2 separate regions of the Homo sapiens genome follow, and region 2 is linked to region 1. The links are contacts of gene promoters, found by promoter capture Hi-C in blood cells and fetal thymus (Javierre and others, 2016). All regions are on one chromosome and are shown on one strand. Each heading gives the region's core, a stretch centred on a gene start or on the middle of the fragment in contact. The rest is flanking DNA. Distances are from core to core; before and after follow the strand shown.

What was found. Contacts are between HindIII fragments. The CHiCAGO score rates a contact against its expected background, and 5 or more counts as called.
Region 2: a contact is called between a fragment that was not itself captured here and the fragment with the promoter of HAS2 in region 1, in 1 of 17 cell types (monocytes). The highest score is 5.6, in monocytes.

Annotation. Positions count from the first base shown.
Region 1 is chr8:121,639,930-121,643,102 of GRCh38, reverse strand. It overlaps HAS2 (hyaluronan synthase 2), which reads left to right and starts at 1,663. Exons shown (of 4, transcript NM_005328.3): 1 at 1,663-2,250. It also overlaps HAS2-AS1. RefSeq lists an enhancer at 381-1,004. The HindIII fragment of the contact is 9,649 bases long and covers 1-3,173 here.
Region 2 is chr8:121,228,907-121,232,079 of GRCh38, reverse strand. No RefSeq gene overlaps it. Among named protein-coding and RNA genes, the nearest start is that of HAS2, 410 kb to the left of the region's middle. The HindIII fragment of the contact is 2,678 bases long and covers 239-2,916 here.

The DNA of each region.
Region 1 (3,173 bases), core at 414-2,913:
TTTGAAAACTACCAAAAAACTGAATCAGGAAGCTCGAGTCTGATTAAGTGGGATGAAATTGTGATCTGAAATTTAAGCCAGTCTCTCCAAGAGTTGAACCACCTAAGGCGGAGTTCAAACAAAGGCTGAAGCAGGAAGGTTTGCTGGGGGAAATCAGTGGGGTCCCCTGAGCAGCGTGAAGTCATCAGGCCAAGGTAATGCTTCCCAGAGGTGTAACCGCTGTGTGTGTGTGTGGCGTGGCGGGGGGGGGCGGGGGGAAGGGGGCGGAAACGCGCAGTACTTTGCAGGTCAGCCCCTGGGGACTGGGATGGCTGACTACCTGGTATTGCACTAAAATGCTTGACCCCTAATCACATCCCCCAACACTACACCTTGTGCGACGTGATGAAAGCATCATTTCCAGTTTATTCGACTTTTCTGTTTAGACTTATTCATTATAGCCCATATATGTGATAAGGACTAAGAACCCAGTCTTCAAGGTCCTGTCGAGTTCCAAAGAAGTCCACCCCTCAGAAGATCCTTGGAAGGGGAAGAAGGAAAAAAGAAAGAAAGAAAAATCTGTTTTACCCTATAACAATTTCAGCGCAATCTCCCAAGACCAAGTTGGTTAATTTGTAAAGTCACTCTCATTTTTTCCTCAACAGTGCCACCTACTGTCCATTTTCAGTCATCAGCAGGCTTGTTGGCAAGGTCCAAGAGAAAGAAAGGAGGCGGAGTGGTGGGGGGAGGAGTAACCAAAAAACGAACTCTACCCAGCCTTGGGGCATTGTGAAAACGACGAGGAAAGGCCATCTCCAAGCAAGACATATTTGTCCTCGTCAACTTTGCAGAAGGCTTGCAAAAAGCAAAAGCCAGTTAAGCCATTTCCTTCAAGATGGCTAAATATAAGTCCTCCAGAAAACAATTTTTATTATTTTATTTTTAATGCGCGCTGTTTGAGTATGTTTACGTTAGGGGACCAGATTGAGCAAAAATATACATATAATTACTTTTCTATGTTTTCCGCCCACCCACGGCAGAAACCTCTTTATGAGAAAGGCTTTGACACTTGACGTCAGCTCAGAAACTTTTGAGTTGGCGGGAAGAAAGGGTTAACAAGTGGTGGACCAGCGCGATCTTTTTAGAGTCCCAGCCGGCTGTCGAAGGCTCCAGGTACACACACACACGCACACACTTACACACACACACACACACGTGCACACACCCCTCCCAACTGTTCCTCCTTGGGTCGGTTACTTAGCTGAAGGGCACCATTTGGCTTTAAAACAAATTACTTCAGCGCCACAGGGAGTTTATCGCTTGGAGGGAACTTGTAACGCGGGAGTTCAGGGAAATCCAAGAGGCGAGGGCTCCCACCTCCGCCGCCAGAGGAAAGTAAGGAATCAGGTGGTGGCCCCCTATGTGTCTTGCATTTCTCTGCACACGTTAGCAATCAAGTTAATTGAATTCATTGGAGTTTAGAACCGGCCTGTAGCTCAGAGAAGGCTTTGAATGGCCAATTTCTCTCTCTCCCTCTCCCCCTCCCCGCCTCCCGCTCGCCCGCCCGCCCGCGCTCCCAGTTCCCTCCCCTCAGGGTTCCCCAGTCCACACCTCCCTCTCCACTTCCCTCACCCCCCCACTCCCTCCGCCGCCCTATTAAAACACCCACCAGCTCACTTGTTAAGACCCCCTTAAGTTGGAGGAGGCAGAAGGGCAACAACGGCGGGGAAGGAGAAGTCAAGACGTCTGGAAAGAATTACCCAGTCCTGGCTTCGAGCAGCCCATTGAACCAGAGACTTGAAACAGCCCCAGCCAAAGACTTTTCTCCCAATTCTGCGCTTCCTGGGTTCTGCTGAGTCTTCCACAGGCTTTTTTTTTTTTTTTTTTTTTTTTTAAGACGAAAAAGAGATTTTCTGTTATCGGGGGCAGAAAGACTGAAGCCCAAAAAAAAAAAAAAAAAAAAAAGAAAAGAAAAGAAAAAAGAAAAGTTAATTTATTTTTAAAGCATAATTTTTTTAAGAATTAGACTGAAGTGCAACGGAAACATAAAGAGAATATTAGTGAAATTATTTTTTAAAGTGGGGAAGAATCAAACATTTAAGACTCCCCTATCCTTTTTAAATGTTGTTTTTAAATTTCTTATTTTTTTTGGCCGGTCGTCTCAAATTCATCTGATCTCTTATTACCTCAATTTTGGAAACTGCCCGCCACCGACCCTCCGGGACCACACAGACAGGCTGAGGACGACTTTATGACCAAGAGCTGAACAAGGTACGTTACACTGGCGCGTTTTGGTGAAGGATGAAGGTCCTCCAACAGGCCAGGGAGAAGGAAGACATCCTTATAATTGTTTTAAAATTTTTAAGCCAGTTTCGATAGAAAAGTTGGAAGTTTAAAAATTTCCAACAGACTGAAGATCAGGGAATATTTCAGGTCACTGTCAGGCTTAGCAACATAGCCCTCTTTTCCCATTTCTGCGGCTCTCGCCAGAAATCCGCTGCCTTTCTGGGGACACAGGTAGCCTCTCTGCCTGGGAAAGGCTGCACGTCCTCAGATGTACTTTTCCATTTTGCATCTTCCGGAGCAGCAGAGGGGCTCCAGAGTTAGGAAACAAGAATTCCCAATGTAAGGAAAATGCATTCTGCACAGCCGCCCCACCCCTTCCCTTCTTTTTTTCCCACACACACACACACACACACACACTGTGGGGAGAAAAACTGGAATAGCCCAGCGCGTTTTACTTCTAAGTGAAAAAGTCGCTTCTTGCTGGGAATGCAAAGGGTTAAGCAATCTGGGCTTCCAGCTCCGACAAGCTGGGACCCTGGAGAAGGAGGGTCCTTCTCTACCTCCTCGCAGCTACCATCCCCTCTCGGCCACTCCCCCCTTTCCCGGGCCTCCCCTCCTTTGCACTTCCCGCACCCCATTAAAGTGTCAGGCTCGTCAGTCTGGGCTTACTCGGGCCAGGGGTCCCTGACGCAGGCGGTGGCACCCGCAGATAGGAGCGGGAGGAGGGCGCGCATCCCTCCTCTCCTCGCCGGGCCAGCCCGCCGGCCGCCCGGAGGCAGGGCGTGCGTGGGGACCGCGCGCTGCGCTTCGGCAGCTGCGGCGTCCCCAGAGCCAATTCCGACGTGGCACCGCGCACGCCGGCGCTTCTCTCCTCAGCTGCAGCTGGGGACACTGCCCGGTGGGAGATC
Region 2 (3,173 bases), core at 328-2,827, 410 kb after region 1:
GAGTTTAGGCTAACAGTGAGGAGGGAAAAGTCTTCCAGGCAGACAGAAAAGGTTGGAAAGACATCGAATGGATAAAGCCTTCATTACTTTCATATTCTAACTGGCTTCCTTGCTTCCAATCCTGAACACCTTTGGACATCTTTTGTACTTCTAGCAGGTATCTTTGCTGCTCTGTGCCATAGCCTTTCAGCCTTCCCTGGTTGTAGCTGCAGCTCTGGTGCACATTACAATGGAAGCTTATACTTACCTGGAGGTGACCCTTCTTCAAATACACTCTCCTCTCTTCTGCTTCCTGCCCAAGTGCCATTTCTGATGTCACAAGAGCCAATTTGACCATCCCATAATTGCATCCAGAAATACAGGGGAGTTAAGAATCACAGGAACATAATTCAACTAATGTGAAACTGAAAACAGAGGATAACTTTTCCAGCTTCCTGTCCTTTGAGTGGACAATTCAAGGTCATATCTGTACATTTCTCAAAGATTCAGGTAGGATCAAGTTCTTGTTCCCTGCCGCAGCAACCTCAATAACGCTCTCTCATTTTGCTTTTTCTCCTTCCCCATTGCACTCCCTTTACTCCCTTTCTCCTGCTTTCTGGGGTCACTTCCTAAATAAACTACTTTTACCCAAGTCATGTCTCAGGCATCACTTTGGAGGAAACCTAACTAAGAGGAAGAAGCCCAAACTAAGTTAGCATTACCAAGACATCATTCCTAAGATATAAAGGAGAGCCATCTTTAAGCAAAGCTCTGATCTCCCTCCAAGTCTCAACCCCCCAGGGGGGTCTCCATAATCTGCAGCCTCCCACACTTAATGGTTCAGCACCATCTTTGTTCCTTCATCCCTCTACCTTCACATTGTTCATAATCTGCTTTGCAGAGGAACTATTTAATTTAATGTGTGTTTTCCCCATTCAGTGGTACATTCAAGGGCAGGACTGTGCATATTCAAATTCATGACCCCAATCAACAACTAGCATACAGATTTGAACATTATAGGTGCTCAAACACTGCTGACATTGTTGTAAATACAATCTTTCATGATGCAGCATACACATCCTGAAATGAACAAGTCTCAGAAATATGGGATGATAGGATTCCAGAATAAATGGGTCATGGTTGCAATCATGATTGTAAAAAAACAGCTTTTCCATATGATACTAAATGACACACTTCTAATGAGGCAGAAAATAAATAATTTCTTAAGAAGAACTTACTGTATTTGGGGAAAAGAAAATGCTCACATGGGCCCCGAGGCTGTTAGACATTCTGAGACTCTGAGAAGAATAAAGTGTGGCAGAAAGGTTCTGGCCCAGAAAAAAAGGAAAACTTATTTTACTGTTCTGAAATAAGGGCACTACTGGATATCTATCCAGAGGAAAAGAAGTCATTATACAAAGTAGATACTTGCACACGCATTATTTATAGCAGCACAATTCACAGTTGCAAAAATGTGGAACCAACCCAAATGCCCATCAATAAACAAGTGGATAAAGAAACTGTGATATATAGGTGATGGAATACTACTCAGCCATAAAAGGAATGAATTAACGGCATTAGCAGCAACCTGGATGGGATTGGAGACTATTATTCTAAGGGAGGTAACTCAGGAATGGGAAACCAAACATCGTATGTTCTCGCTCGTAAGTGGGAGCTAAGCTATGAGGATGCAAAGGCATAAGAATGACACAATGGACTTTGAGGACTCAGGGGGGAAGGGTAGGAAGGGGGTGAGGGATAACAGACTACAAATTGGATTCAGTGGTTCAGTGTATATTGCGCAGGTGATGGGTGCACAAAAATCTCACAAATCACCACTGAAGAACTTACCAAACACCATCTGGTCCCAAAAAACCTATGGAAATGACGAATTAAAAAAAACTGAGATAAAATAAACAATAGAAATAAATAAAAATAAATAGGAGATGAAATAGAGAGGACACTGTTGAAGAGATAAGAAGGGCATGCAAGCTGATAGAACACTGTGTGGTGTGAATGTGATTTATATATCTGACCTCTCGAATATTTTGACAAAAAGTATTTTAAAGTCTCTAAAATCTTAGAGTGATTTCATTTCTTGTGGAAATAGGTAACAGAGTGATTATCGTTGTTGGTCCTGCCTGGTGTGGAATATAGCCCCTGTGTTTATAATCCCCTTCTTTATGTGCTAGGTTTTAACATACACGAACACACACACACATTAAATATATAAATATATACTTATAAACACACACACAGTGGGTCCTCGTTATTTATGAATTCCATATTTGCAAATTTATTTATTCCTAAAATATGTGTGCAAGCCCCAAATCGATACCTATTGTGTTTTCACAGCCATTCATAGACATGTAAAAAGAGGCTGTAAAAAGACTGAGCCTCCAGTCGCACATTCCCAGCTGAGGTCAAGCAAGGCGATTCTCTGCCCTCTTGTTTTACCTATCATACTGCAAACGAGTGGGGTTTTCTTGCACTCTATTTTGTGCCACATTTTCTTTACCTTTTTGTTATTTCTGTTGGTGATTTTCCTCTTTTTTTTTTTTCTTTTTTTTTTTTCTTTTGAGACAGAGTAGAGTCTTGCTCTGTCTCCCAGGCTGGAGTGCAGTGGTGCAATCTCGGCTCACTGCAGCCTCCGTCTCCCGCGTTCAAACGATTCTCCTGCCTCAGCCTCCCGAGTAGCTGGGACTACAGATGTGCACCACTACGCCTGGATAAATTTTGTATTTTTAGTAGAGACGGGGTTTCACCACGTTAGCCAGGATGGTCTCGATCTCCTAATCTCATGAGCCACCTGTCTCGGCCTCCCAAAGTGCTGGGAGGTTTTGCTTTTTAAAATGGTCCCCAAACATGGTGCTGCAGTGCTGTCCTAATCTTAAGGCTGTGATGTGTCTTTCAGAGAAAATACATGTTAAATAAGCTTCATTCAAGCATAAGCTACAGTGTTATTCAATCTTAACCAAAAATATATATTAAATGAGCATCTTTAAACAAAAGTACACATAAAACAAGGTTATGTATTACTCAGTTAATGAAAATATTATGATCAGCATTTCACAGAAACTGAATTTTGTATTTCCCTTAGGAGCAATGGCTCAGTAATCCTGTGTTCACAGCAACTATAAAGAACATAAATATAACACATAATGAGAGTAGGTGCTCTCTCTCTGGGTGCGTGT